Regions from separate parts of the Homo sapiens genome. Here region 2 is linked to region 1. The links are contacts of gene promoters, found by promoter capture Hi-C in human tissues and cell types (Jung and others, 2019). All regions are on one chromosome and are shown on one strand. The core of a region is centred on a gene start or on the middle of the fragment in contact, and the rest is flanking DNA. Distances in the headings are between cores, read along the strand shown. Region 1 holds the start of ARID3C (AT-rich interaction domain 3C). Region 2 overlaps DNAI1 (dynein axonemal intermediate chain 1).

Region 1 (7,603 bases), core at 2,459-4,958:
CTTCCTGCTGTAGAGCACGTGAGGTGTCCCCTGCCTGAATCAAGGGAAAACAGGGAAGACATGGCTGGAGGAAGGACCCTGGACACAGAACCAAGGCATTCTCAGCCCTCTGATTCTGGGACCCTCCCACCCCAGGCCAGGCTCCCATCAGTTCCCCCTCCCACCCTCCCAATTGATCCCAAACTCATTAACCTGCCAGTGGGCTGGCCACTAATTAATCCTGGGGTGGAGGAGGGGGACAGGGTCAGAGGTTAAAGACGCTATCGAGGGCCCAAAGGACAGGTGCTGCCAAGCTCAGGCCTCAGCAGGGAGAACCCAACCGGGTTTCCTCAAACCTGGTAAGGGGGCAATTCCAGGGCCCTTCCCCCACATCATGCCACTCACCCCTCTTTTGCATGAAGCTAAACAGGTCATCCAGAAATTCCTTCCTCTTGGGGTCTGCATCGAGCTCATACAGCTGGGGAAGGATTGGGGTCATTCTACAGCTCTGCTGACTCCCCCTCCCTCCCTTGACCCCAATTCAGGTTGTACCCTGAACAAGGGTCCCTAGCTGAAGGAGTCAGTAGGATCTCAATGTGGACTCCCTGGGATTAGCATTAGGCTCTCTCCGCCTAGGGGCAGGCAGGGGTGCCTTTTTCTAGTACATACAGAGACTGGTACTGGTAGTGGTACCCTGGGCCATTCAAACCACCCATCTGGGGAGTAAGGGAAGAGAGGAACAGGATGGAGCTTGGAGGCTCAGCCTGCCCTCTGGGGCTCAGTCTTCCCCCACCCTCATGGGAAATTTAGAGCCCCAGGAAGGAAGCTAGGCTGGGGTTGTATACCAGACTGAGGAGACAAACATATATCTGATGCTCTGATTCATTCATGCAAGGACTTCATGGTGTTCACATCCCTGTATGCCAGGGCTGGGGGTGACTGAAGGGCAGAGATGCTCCTAACCCACCCCTCAGGCAGGGTGATGCTCAGAAGCTCCTGGGTTGACACCCAGGGCCCTTCAGCTCATCTTCTGGTCTGATTTCCTTTCAGAGGCAGTTAACCTGCCTACAGACGCTGCTATAGAGGCACTGGCCCTGTACCACCTAGGACCTGTGGGGTCAGAGTTTAAAGGATCCACAGGCCATCTCAACTCTTCCTGGTAATCTGGAGTCCCACCTCCTGCATCAACTCCCGAATACTAGTCAAGAGAACCACCCCTTGAGTCACTGACCCAGAGTAACAGTCCTTGAGTAACACCTATAGATAATATTCCATCACTCCATCCCCATAAGAATCCTCAGAGTATAAAACAAACAAAATATCCATGAGTAATAAACCCCAGATCCACCTTTAGAGCCACATTCCCACAAAAATTGAGCCCTAAGTCTAAGATGTTATTACTTAGATCCAAGTAATAACCCCTAGAATTATACCTAGGAGAAACAGTCTCTAGACCACATATCCAGAACAGAGCCCTGAGTAACACTCAGTTTTATACTAATGCCAGAGTACTAGTCACAGATCAACACTTTTGGAATATACCCAGACCAACACCCTACAAGTACCAGAATAGCACACCTGGAGACACAGCCCTGTGTAACACCTTCATAGTGACAGCCTTGAGTAGTGTCCTTAGAATAACACCCAGAAGGGTTCTCCAGGGAGAAAGAACCTCAGATTAAGGCCCTGTGAATGAAGTCTTGTCATTCTGAGTTGCGGAGGAGCCCTTTAGTCATACTGCGGCTGTAGTGGCCATCCCAGGCTGGGAACTATCATCCGTGGAACTCAGGCCAGGGAGATTTGCATGGGGCCAGGGTTAGGGAGGAGGTGACAGGAAAGAAAGGAAAGGTGTATCAGCCTGCCAAGTGAGTGATAACCTCCATTCTGCTTCCAAAGACAGAGGAAGCAACTGGGTCACCCCCACTGGTCACTGGAATATGACCTTGTGACTTGATGTGTGAGAAGGTAGGCAGGGTGGTGCTGGCATTGGAATCCCCAGCCCCTAGACTGCCTTCCCTACACCTGGCTGGGCATGGTGGCTCATCCCTGTAATCTCAGCACTTTGGGAAGCTGAGGTGGGAGGATTACCTGAAGTCAAGAGTTCGAGACCGGCCTGGGCAATACAAGAAAACCTTGTCTTTACAAAAGAAATTTTAAAAAATTAGCCAGGCATCTGTCTTTCCCTCCCTGTCACTATCCTCCAATCTTCTCTCTGTCTTTCTATAGGTCTCCGTGTCTCTGTGTCTCTTTTCATCTTGCAGAGGGTGGTGGGGGTGGGTGGGCTGCTAATCACCTGGCTGTGCTTTTGCCAGAAGAGAGAGATAGGGAAGAGGGCCGGACATTGAGGGCATAGGTCCTACCTGCTTGAATTGTTCCTCGTAGGTCCACTCGTGGGGATGGAGTCCAGGGGGCTGGCTAGAAGGCGAGCTGGGGCCCTGGGCCCCTGGACGGCTCTCCTCAGCTGCCTCCTCCTCTGCCCCGGCTTCCTCCCGCTTCTCCTCATCTTCTTCAGCATCTTCCTCTTCCTCAGCCCCAACATTCCCCAAGGCCCCCTCAGGGGCCTGTAGGGTCCGGTGGTCAGGCAGGGGAGGCTGCGGTGGCAGCAGCGGGCATGCAGGGGCCAATGGCCCCACCCCCTGGGCCAGCCGAGCTGCCTGCTGCTTCTGCAGGGCCTCCATGACAGCTTCCAGGCGCAGTCCCCCAGCTGAGGGGGTCCCTGGTACCAGGCGGGACCCCGAGGAAAGGGCCGCCTGTGGGGGAGGGAATTATGGGTGCTGGGCCCTACTGCCCCCAGAGCCCCCCAACACAGGGGGAGGTGGTCATGGATTCAGGGAAGTGCAGGGGTCACAAGGAAAGAGGCAGAAAGATGGCTTTCCCAGAGGTGAACAGAAACAGGACCAGACCCGGGGAATCAAATGGCCATTGACTGAGGACTGGAAGAGTGAGCAGATCAGAGAGGGTGACGGGGACCAAGAGACATCGGGAAATGGTGAAGGAAGGGAGAGAGAAAGAAAAGGAGAAGGGGGATGTCCGACAGAGACAATGACAGGGAGATGTGAAAATAGAGATGGAACAGGGTGACAAGGAGAGACAGAAGTGGGGTGACACAGAGACTGAGAGGGACCAAGATGGAGAGAGGCAGAGGTATCAGGCAGAGACAGGGTAGACAGACAGAGATGGAGAGAGATAGAATATTGGGTAGAGAGACAGGGAGGGTAAGAGAGGTAGAGGAGCAACAGATAAAAGACCTAAGTGACAGGTAGCTCAGAGACGGACAGAGACGGAGAGACAGAGGCGGAGATAGACAAATAGACAGGGGTTGAGATATAGGGAAAGACCAAGACAGCAGGAAACGGACAGAAGAGAGAGATTAGAAAGAGACAGTTAAATAGAGAGGGACCGACAGAGACAGGGACGGGAAAAACAGCCGGAGAGAGGGGCAGAGGACAGGGACCAAGGAGTCGCGGGGATGGAGGGCGGTGGGGCAGAGCCTGGGACGGGCACGGGACCGGACGGGCAGGAGGCGGCAGAGTCGCGACGCCCGGCTCCCTCGCTCCGGGCGCCCCGCGGCCGCACTCACCTGCCTGGCGTGGCCCGCTGCCCCTGGCGTCTCCACGGCGCTGCCTTTGCTCCGCCCGCCTCCCAGGCGGCCCTGGCCTCGGCTGGGTCCCGGCGGTGCGCTCCCGCCGCCCTGTGCTCCTCTGGCGGCTGTGCGCTCACTCGCCGCGCTGCTTGCGGCGGCCGCGGGGGCGGGACCCGAGCGGGGCAGGGCGGGCGGGGCGCATGGGGAGAGGCCCCTGTGGGATCTGCCGCTCTCAGCTCCCCAACAGGTGTCTCCCACCTTCTTTCCAGCCAGCTTCGGGGGCAGGGGGCGCTGGAAAGCTGCGGGGGAATCGTGCGAAAATGAGGGCTCTACCGCCACCGGACTCCGGACCAGAGCCCCGCCCAGCCTCACAAGTCGTGCCCCCGACACCCACACTCGGCACTGGGCTTCCACATACAAATAGCCGCATCCACACACCAACACACCTTGTCACAAGTTCAGGCGCATAGCTTCCCAGTCTCACACGTTCCGTGACATGGTCACCACAGTGCCAATGGCCTGGGCACGCTGTGATCAAGAGGGGAATCCCTCTGCAAGATGCTGGGGTGTGCGTGGAGGGTCTGGTCAGAATAGAAGCTTCTCCCTTTGCCTTGAGCACCCCTGCCCTGCCTACGTGCTGTCCCCCACTGCGGGCATGCTGCGGTTTGCACACATGAGTGCACATGGTGGTGGACCCACACCTATGCACTCACACACTCTCAGAGGTCTTTAAGCTGACTGCACACTCACCGCATGCAGATACACAGCCACACACAGTTTTTGTCTCTTTTGACATTCTATTATGGAAATTTTCTTTTCTTTTCTTTTTCTTTCTTTTCTTTTTTTTCTTTTTTGGAGACAGAGTCTCTGTCACCCAGGCTGGAGTGCAGTGGCGCGATCTGGGCTCACTGCAGCCTCCGCCTCCCAGGTTCAAGTGATTCTACTGCCTCAGCCTCCCGAATAGCTGGAATTAGCTGGGATTACAGGCGTCCACCACCAGACCCGGCTAATTTTTGTCTTTTTAGTAGAGATGGGGTTTCACCATTTTGGCTAGGCTGGTCTCGAACTCCTGACCTCAAGTGATCCACCCACCCTGGCCACCCACAGTGCTGGGATTACAGGCATGAGCTACCGTACCCAGCCTGTATTATGAAAATTTTGAAACATAGACAAGTGAATAGTATAATGAACCTCTGGTACTCATCATAGGTTTGTTTCAACAGTGACCGGCACTTCGCCCATGTTCACACACATTCTCCACCTATGTGTGCCTGACTGCCACATCTGTATCTCCAGACCCCCTCAGCCCACTGCTTTGCGCCCTCCCCCTAACTATTCCCAAGACGCTGAAATGCTGTTCCTTATTTGGGGGTTCTGAGTGGCAGGCCTCTCAGAATTTCTGCTCTGAACAGCCTGGACCCCACTCCTCCCGGGAATCCTCATACTTCCTATTTCTTCCTGTGCCCAAGGGGACCACTTACCAAACAGAGGGACACTGTGAGGTGATGCCAAGTGTGTAAGTGAACAGCAGGTGTCTGTAGGGGTGACACTTGGCATAGGTATGAAACTGTGGCACCAGAGACTGTCTTCTGACCTCACACCCCCAGAAGGCAGGAATCCAAACACGACCTTTGTCTCCTCCCTCCTCCCTTGTCCTCTCCCAATCAGTCCACTCCTCTCAGCCTCAGCTTGCTCTGGCTCAAACCACCGGCTCTTCTGACCATGGTGGGTCTGACCATGGTGGGTGCCTCCTCCCTGCTCTCCCTGCCTCCAGCCGCCACCCTTCTCTGCACCCTTCTGTGCCCAGCTTCTACTGCAGCACTAAGTCCTGGTTCTCTATGGCCCATTCCTGGCCACGCTGAGGCTCACCCCATTCATTCCTTTGGCTGCCCCAGTGTCCTCCACCTCAGATTTCAGACCTCTGAGCCCATCAGAACCCCCCAGCCTCCAGAAGCTCCAGTGATCCAATCACTGTCGGTACTGATGCCTCCTCCCCCATGGCTTTGTTTGGTGTGAGTATCCTGGGGCAGAGCCAAGCCTCCTCCTCTGCCCAACCCTCCCTGATGCTGGGAGGGGAGAATCAGTGAATGTGCCAGGCAGACAGACATGCCCTGGAAGTCTACTGGAAGACTGGAGAGCAGAGGGTAGCAATCCACAGAACCCTTGTGCCCTGCTTGCTCCCTTTTCCCCACCACAGCTTCCCCTGGCTGCTCAGAGGAGGTCCATGGACAAAGGTAGGTGGCCAGAGTCTTCCTAGAAAGGTAGGAATTGGCTTGGGGAAATTCCAGTTCTGAGTGTTTGGAGATCGCTTTGTAGGGTTTGGGTTGAATGGTAAGGGGCTGGGCAGTCACTCCCCCAGCTCCCAAATCAATCAAGCAAAGTTAATCCACTTTTGGGGTCTGGGCCAGGAGGGCTACAACTGGGAAGGGCTGAGGGGAAGGAATATGCTTGACTGGGACTTGGTTTATCTCTCTTCATCTGTGAAAAGGAAAGGCTGCCTCTCATACCCGCAGTCTGGTCTTATACCTCACAGAGACGGAGACAGACCTAGACCTTCAGAGACCCATGCTTCATTCATCCAACACATATTTATTATCTATTTTTTTTGCCAGGCACTGTTGGACACAGGAGCAAATAAGACAAAGTCCTTATTATAATGGTACAATTCTAAGTGGGGGAAATATACAGTGTGTCAGATAGTGGTAAGTACCATGGAGAAAAATGTAGCTGGGTTGGGGGGAACATAAAAGGGGGCATTAGTTACCTATTGCTGTGTAACAAATCACCCCATAATTTAGCAGCTTAAAACAAAAACATTTATTTTCTCACAATTCTGTGGGTCTGGATGGTTCTGACTCATTGTCCTCTAAGGTGTTGTAGTAAAAAGGTTGGCCAGGGATGCAGTCATCTGAAGGCTTGACTGGAACTGGAGGATCTACTTCCAAAATGGCTCACTTGCATGGCCCTTGGCAGGGGGCCTGTTCCCCCCGCAATATGGGCCTCTCCATAGGATTGCTTGTATGTCCTCTCAACATGGCAGTTGGTTTCCCCCAGAATGATCCAAGAGAGACTCTTTAGACAGCAATGCTTTTTATGGCCTAGTCCTAGAAGTCACACACTGTTATTTATGCCACATTATTTGTGAAAGTACATAATTAAGTCTAGTCCACTCAAGGGGAAGGAATTTAGGCTTCACCTCTTGAAGGACAGAGCATCAAAAATTTTGTGAAGGTATTTCAAATCACCATGCAAGAGATACTATTATATAAGTGTTGAAGAACTCAGTGAGCAGGAATTGAAGGAGGGGAGGAAGAGAGCTATGACTACGTGGATACCTAGGGACGAGCACTACGGTCAGAATAGCAGGTACAAATATCCTGGGATAGAATTTTGCTTGATGTGTTGGAAGAAAAGCAAGGAGGCCACTGGGTTGGAATAGGGGGGCTGAAGGGGTGAGTGGTTGGAATGTCTGATCAGAGGAAACATGGGCCTTGGAGTAGGCCCTTGTAAGGAGTGAAAGGACAGAATGAGATGGAAAGCCACTGGTTAGGTCTCAGCAGAGAGTGAAAGTCTGACTGGCTGCTGCGTGGAGAACCCTCCACACAAGATGCATGCGTGAAGATCAGTTAGGGGGCCATTGCAATAGTCTATAGGCAAGAGATGATGGTGTCTTAGACCAGGGTGGGGGCAGTGGAGGTGAGAAGGCATGATTAGAGTCTGGATATATTCTGCAGATAAAAACAGTATTTGATGATGGATTGGATGTGGGACATGAGAGAAACAGATGTGTCCAAAATGACTCTGGGCAGCTGGGTAAATGGAGGTGCCCTTAATTCACAGTAAAGACTACAGGATGGTGGTGGTGTGGGGCTGGGAGAGAATTCGGTTTGCTTTGGATATCTCAAGTCTGAGATACCTATTAGACAGCCAAGTGGAGATGTTGAGTAGAGATGAAGGCAGTAAGATTTCCAACTCTGGTGCTCAGGGCAGAGATTTAGGCTGAGACAAAAATTTAGAAGTCAAGATATATAGATGGTAAAG
Region 2 (7,373 bases), core at 4,874-7,373, 130 kb before region 1:
CTGGAGGCTAGCAGTATTTCAGAATTATTGAGCTAGAGGGTAACAGAAGACATATTCCTTATTGAAAGCACTATATGCCTTCTGGAAGAGCTGGGGAGTGTGCTCAGGTGGGGGTGGGATGTGAGGATAAGGCACCACTTCCCTCGGCAACGGCTTATAGGATCTGGGAAAGTGAGATGTTTTTTCACTTTCAGTACTTGGGTTTACTTATGTCCTATACTGTAGGTGAATCTTCAGGGCCAGGAGCCAGATCAGAGATGATCATAGGTACCATAAATGCTAGGCCAATGGATTTGGCCACCCTGGGCTAGATTTTCCATGAAGAGCCATGTAGAAGTCATTATAAAGGTCATGGTTGAGGGGGGCTCACTGTGGGTCTAGCCAGCACAGGTTTGGGGAATCATCGTGGGAGTCACAGTGATGCAACTATAGGGAGTCACTGAAGGGAGGGTCGCCACAGGGAGACGCTGAAGGGCCACATTTGTCCCTTTAACAGACAGAAATCTGGATCAGGAACCAGAGTCCCATTGTGGATCAGGATGGGTTTGACTTGCAGTGGCGTGGGAGGGACAATGTCCACAGGAATCTGGGGGCTGGTTTTCAGCACCTCGGAGAGTTCCCATGGCTGCTCTCGGGGAAGTGGTTCTGCTCCACTCCAGAATTGAAGCTGGACCAGATAAAGGAAGTGCTGCTTCCTATGCCTGAGATGTGTCCACTCTCGCTTAATTCTGTTTCATTATCCTGATCATGTCACATTTTAGGGGAAGTTTGAGGGTACCCTGCCTTGGCTTTATAGGAACTGTCCCAATGCTGTTTTATTCAGTCACTGACCAAGTACCTAGTGATCATGGCCGTGCGGGTACTGGAACTCTGAGGTGAAAGATGGAGCCCCTGCCCTGCTACTCTGTGCAGACCCTTGGCTTCCCCTGATCCATTCTCTAGAGGTTAGAGGCTTCACAGGGGCCACTGGCCTAGGTCAGGGTTCACATGAAGATCCATCAGGGGTTATAAGCTCTGTACTGGGACCCATGGTTGCAGAAACCTCAACTATAATCACCAGGATCTAGAAACCAGAAGAAAAGTCCCTGTGACTGAGACTAGAATCTGACCTGTGTCTTCTAAGCCTTGCAGAGTTGGTGTCTAACATCCTCAGGGATGAGGGACCATCTCTCTCCATCACACTGGACTCTTCCAGCTTAGCTGACTTGGAAGACTATGGTACAAGCAGATTCCAGCCCTCTGGACCAAGAGTCCACATGGGAGGCAGGACACCCTCCCCCAGCCCCACCTAGTGAATGCCTTGGTGTGCACCCTCTCCCCAAGGCAATAATTAGAAATCCCAAGTACTGGGCCAGGCTGTCTGTGCAACACAGTGGGAAAGGCAGTCACCTTCCCCATTGCCCAGGCCCAGTGGTTGAACAGAGTGACACCCCTTCCTCAAAGAATGGGGTCTGATTATGTGGGTAGAAAACTCAAATGTGCTGGAGGGGAGAAAAGATAAAAACTTCATGATATCCTATAGGAAGGGCCTCCTTGGTGGACCTCAGGTCTCTGTCTCATTAGTGATTTGAGTGAATGCACAGAAATCAATGCACATTTGTCTGATCTGAATAATTAGGTAGGAAAGGAGGAAAGGGCTCACAGGCTGCAAGTTCAGTGAGAACTAATAAAGATGTGTGGCTGCTCCAGTAGCATAGTATCTGGGACAAGGGAGGTGACAGCCCACAACACTCTCCTCAGAACACAACTGGAAACCTGCATCTCCCAGGGCCAGGAGAGGAGTGGTCAGACTGGGGAGGCACTGGCTCACTGTGTGGGTCTGAGAGCATGGACCCTGGAACCTACAGACCTGGATTTATATCCTGGCTTTGCCATTTGTTAGCTCAGTTTTTCTGAAACCTCAGTTTCTTCATCTGTAAAGATACCCTAATGATACCTACTTTGCAAGATTTTCATGAGAACCCAAGATAATACGGTGCAGCCCCTAACATAACACTTTTGTGCTACTGATCAATAAATGGTAGCTATTGTTATTGATATGCCATTTCATGACTGATGGAGCTGGGAGGAGTCACCCGAGGAAGTGCTGACTTGAGGGCATGTGGCTGTGTCCTCCTACCTCAAAGGAGCTCTCACCAAGCATCCAATTCCTTGTGGCCAGAGGACAGAGTTGGGCCCATAGGTAGAAGATGCAGGGAGGGAGTTTCAGTTAACTGGCTATCTGGCCACAGAAAACACTGCCTGACCTGGGGAGAGTCACACTTACCAGGAAGCTGCTAAGGGGAGAGGATTCCTGCTCTGGGTCAGAGAATAGAGAGCGTAGCTGGAACCAGGTGAACTCTGAGGTCCGTGACTGCAAGACTCCAGTGAATGCCCTTCTTGGTCAGTTTTCAAAGATAAACTTGGAGTCTCTTTCAGGCGTGGCAAAAGGTCCTCAAAGGTCAGTTCCCCAGAAGTGACTTCATAACCCTTCGCTGCACTACTCTGCATGTTTCCTCTGACACCATCACCACCGGGAACTGGGTTAGACACTAACATGTATTATCACATTTCACCATCACAATGACCTGATGAGGCAGATGCCACCATCCGCCCCCACTTACCAGGAGGAGTCTAAGACTCAGAGAAGCTAAATAACTTGCCAGAGGTTGCCACCGGGTTCTAATTTTGGTGGGATGGGATAGGAGTGCAGGTCTGTGCGGCTCTAGAACCCATCCTTTTAACCGCTACCTGACGCTGCTGTTTCTGAGACATCGAATCCTTGGGAGCCATGGGCCTGGCCCCCTGACCCTACCCTGGAGGGCTGCCCATTCAGCTGGCTCACTCCTGCCACCTGCCCTAAGCCCTCTGGGCCTTTCCTGTTAGTCCCAAACTCTTTGCTCTTCTGTCAACCTGCCAAGCACCTCATCTTGGGGATTTATGGAATTTCACACAATGGCAAGCTTCCTTTTGGTTCAAGATGAGTCACGTTTTCCTGAAGTTAAGCTTCCTGCTTTCTCATTGGTCTGGGCTGTGGGGAGGGCCTGGAATTAGGAGTCTCAGTTCTGCCTTGTACTCCATGTATGTAAGCATGTCTCTCCCCTCTTTGGGCCTTGGTGCCTTCCTCAGCCTGTAACTGAGTAAGGGATAAAACCACATGATCTTTGAGGCCTTTAATGGGAGTCTTTCACTCTCTGAGCTGGTAAAACTTTTCTGTCTCCACCAAAGAAGGCTCCAACCTGCCCTTGTCTGCTCTCCCCTGCAGACCCTTCCTGGGCTCTCTTCAATGCCCTGTCTTGTGCTCAGAGATAGGCCTTCTCCAAAACAAGTCCAGAATGAAAGCATGAAGCAGGTTCTACCCAGGGGCCAAGTATATCAGCTCAGACCCTTTGTGCCACTTGTGAGGTAGGAGTTCCTAGAAGAGGGTAGTGGCATGAGCTGGGCCTTGAGACATGCAGAGAAACCTTTACAGAGCTATCTGGGGTGAGTAGTGCCAGAGAGCTACTGCTGAATCAATTGCAAGGGTGACATGGCTCAGGACATATGACCTTGCTAAGTGCTGGTTTATGAGGACCTGAAGTTTCTGTATCCCCACAGACTGATGATCTCATCAAATTGTCCCAAGCTGCTAAGATCATGGAGCGGATGGTCAACCAGAATACATATGATGACATTGCTCAAGGTAAGAGTTGAAGTTCTGGCAACCACTATTATTGCCTGTATTAAAAATTTCTCATAAAAGCTTGGGTTATTTGGGTGTCTCTTGCTAGCTCCTATAGGTGCAAGCGGAGAAAAAATAATCCCTCTGTCCTCTGGATGTCACTGGGGAGACAAGACTTATGTGGATTAACCATGACTGATGGCATAAGAAACAATGTGTATACTGATGAGATCTGGAAGTGGTGCAGCAAAGAATACCTGCACATGGGTGATCCAATCTCATCTTCCTGATAACCCTGGGAGGCAGGCAGAGCAGAGACTTGCCCATACTGTACACATGAGGAAGCTAAGGCTAAGGCCACCTGACTAGTGAGTGGCAGAGAGGACCCAAATAGAGGTCTCGATCTTCCTCATTCTATGCTCTGTCCTCTACTCAGAGCACCTTGGGAATGCTATAAATGCCAGAATGTATGGGGTAGACAGAAACCACTCTGGGGATCCTCACATAGGAGAGAAGGAAAGTGAGGGATGAGTGGGAGTAGTTATGGAAGGCTTTGGAGAGGGCTTAGCTAGATGCCAAGGGAGAAGCAGAGTGTGTGAGAGAAGATAGCTACAGGGAGGATGTTCTGGACAGGGATGGCATGAGCAGTGTCTTGGCAGTGAAACCGAATAGGAATGGACTCTGGGGACAAGGGACAGCAGGCTCCCTGACCCAAACAGGATCTTCATTGAAAAGAGGTGAGAGTTCAGGCGGAAGAGGTTGTTGGAGCCCATTAATGAAGGGCCTTGAATATCATGCAAGGAATGTGACCTATCTCTGCAGACAGTTCAGAGAACTGAAACTTTCTAGGCAGGGACACAGCCCGATGAGAGCAAGGCTGGAGGAGGATGTGATTGTGTAGAATATAGGGCAGAGGTGGAGGTGAGGCTCAAATGTGGGGTGGAATGGGCCTTACCACACCTGACCTAGCCTGTGTCTTAAGGAATGGAGAAAAGGGAACAGTTATAATAGTGAGAAACAAGCTCCAGCATTCACTGGGAGTAGCCTGTGTGTCAGGCATTGTGCTATGCAATTTACATGTTATTATTTTGTTTGTTCCTGACAGCCACACTGTGAGGTGAATACCATTATTATCTCCATTTTATAGATGAGAAACTCAGGCTGGGATGTTGCCACTTTTTCAAAGTCACAGCTAGTGTGAAGTGTGAGTGGCAGAATCAGAACTCGAACACAGGCCCCTTGGATCCATCACCTAAGCACTTCGCCGCTAGGCTGCAAAGCCACTGAGCCGGAAGAGACATTTCAAATAAACACACTCAATAGATCTATCCTGGTGATTAATTAGTGATGAGTTGAAGAAAGAGATTGATTCAGAAATGCTTAAATCCTGGGGGCCTGGGAAATTCTGGTGTCTGACAGTGTCAGGGAAACAGAATCCTTCCCATGGCATGAACAGCACATTCCCAAGTGGCTTGTATTTCCCTAAGAGGTTGTGCATTTATTTGGAGCAGCTGCCTTCCCAGAGTTGGCAGCTCCTCGATGCTGGCTGGTCTCCTTTGCTGACAGCCTAGGGCTCTTCTTGGTGACTTGATGCTCATTGCTCACCCATGGGACACAGAAACCAGGGCTGCCAAAACCAGCCACCTAAACAAGCCCCCTCATTATCATTCAGGCTGGAAAACGACCTTGAGTGCTTTTCAAAGCTGTCAAAGTACACAACAGCTGTGAATGAGTTTGTCACTCACACAGCGTGGCTTCTTGAAACCCAGCCTCTGCAAGTGGCCCACCAAAGGGCTGCAAACCTGATTAATATCCATGGAGAAATTGGCCTTGGTGAACCACTTTCATTTATAAGAACACAGTCACATAAAAATGTATTGAACTTTGATTTTTTTAATTGCATACTCCTTTCCCTTTGGGAAAGTGTAATCATGAAGGAGACATGAAAATAGAGAAGTGTTACCAATTAATCTCTGCTCTGAATTGAAGTATTTTCAAAGATAACCCAAGCGGGGTAATCTCTGATGTAATCAAGGCTCACGCCTCTCTGACCACTTGAATCTTTTTTGTTCTGAGACATTTTTGAGGTTTGAGTGAAGTCCCACAACCTCAAGGTATGGGCACTATAGGAGATGTCAGGCCTGGGCATGTTCTTGGCTTCACTGAATGACAGGATTCATTTTCTAATTGGTCACCCTTTGTCTAAAGAAGATCAAGAACTACTTCACTTCTGTTAATGAATTTCACTGCATTCTTTAAACAGTTGTTGGTTGTCTGTTTTGTGGCTGGCCCTGTGCTAGGCACTGGGGACCCAGAGAATATATGTGTGTCCTGCTCTCCAGATATTGTCTGGTGGGGGAGAACAGGCAAAAGGATAGAGGCAATCTAGTGTGACAGATGTTTCAGTAGAGGAGAGGCAGGGCTGGAACAGAGGAAGAAATTAACTCTGCTCAAAAGAAAATGAAGGCCTTACAGATGAGAAAGAGTTTGATCTGGATCTGGAGTGAGTAGGAGTTTGCCAGGAAGAACAGGGCATCTTAGACATGGAAAACGATGTAGAAACACCCAAAACAGGAGACAACTGGACTCATTGGCATGATTTGATATGGAGGGGACACGGACAGCTGACTAGAAATAACGTGGATCTCCTCTTGGTTTAATCTCCTCTGCAAGGAGAGCCATTGAGGGGGTTTCAGTGGAGTGAGGAAAGGGGTGTCGTGAGGTGCCTTGTTTGTACTCACACTGGTTGTTCTGTGAAACAAGGGTTGGAGAAGGAGTTACTGGAGGTAGGAGACCAGTTAGAGGGATGTTGTCATAATACAGGTGATGGATGTTGGGGCCTGAACCTGGGCAGGGGCTATGGGTTTGGAGAGAAGCGAATGAATTAAAAAGATAGAAGAAAAATATGAGAAATTATGGAAACAGATCAGTCAAGGATTACTCATTTCTGGTTTAGACAAGTGGGAGGATGGGGCATCTATCTAACTTAAAGAAAGTGGAAGGCAGAGACAATTTTGTGGGCAGGAGATGAAGTTGGGTTCAGAGAACCCATGGGGGATCTAGGCAGCTTCATTATAGGGAGACTTGGCTGTGGATATGAAAATGGGCTGCATTTTAGGGATTTAGGAGGCAGAATTAATGGAACTATTAATCAGCCCTTGGCAGCTGAACCCTTGAAATTTGGCTCCTCCAAACAGAGCCTCCTGAAATGCTAGGGAAACACATGGGAACAAGGGCTGCGAACCTGGGATTTTATCCATGTAGACATGGCCGGTGTATTGTAATGTACCTCCAACAACAACGACAGTAACAATGGCTAACACATAGAGCTTACTATGTGCCAGGCATTTTTCTAAGCTCTTTGCATATATTAACTCAATTCATATATCCTCACAACAGAACTCTGAGATAGGTAGTAGTATTATTCCCACTCTAAAACAGAGGCTCATTGTTTTGCCCAAGGAGGTACAGACAGTAAGTGGTGGACCTGGGTTTGCCATAAAGCGGCAGTCCCAGGGCTGACTCTGCCTGTGTGTGTTTAAGATTTTAAGTACTATGACGATGCTGCTGATGAATACCGGGACCAGGTGGGTACCCTGCTGCCGCTCTGGAAGTTCCAAAATGACAAAGCCAAGCGCCTGTCCGTCACTGCCCTCTGCTGGTAAGTATAGGCATTGCAGCAAATGCAGAGCCCCTGAGTGCCCTCTACATCCCAAACCCCCAGTACCCCCTT

What was found. Contacts are between HindIII fragments. The study calls those that stand out against the background at their distance.
Region 2: a fragment that was not itself captured here is called in contact with the fragment with the promoter of ARID3C in region 1 in 3 of the 25 tissues and cell types used here (IMR-90 fibroblasts, hippocampus and spleen).

Annotation. Positions count from the first base shown.
Region 1 is chr9:34,625,358-34,632,960 of GRCh38, forward strand. ARID3C (AT-rich interaction domain 3C) reads right to left here and starts at 3,709. Exons shown (of 8, transcript NM_001017363.4): 1 at 3,560-3,709; 2 at 2,340-2,729; 3 at 385-457. The coding sequence starts at 2,657. RefSeq lists silencers at 3,518-3,617, 3,668-3,827. The HindIII fragment of the contact is 10,650 bases long and covers 749-7,603 here.
Region 2 is chr9:34,493,539-34,500,911 of GRCh38, forward strand. DNAI1 (dynein axonemal intermediate chain 1) reads left to right here. Exons shown (of 20, transcript NM_012144.4): 10 at 3,577-3,661; 11 at 7,184-7,301. Among named protein-coding and RNA genes, the nearest start is that of ENHO, 26 kb to the right of the region's middle. RefSeq lists silencers at 413-707, 453-747. The HindIII fragment of the contact is 6,320 bases long and covers 2,964-7,373 here.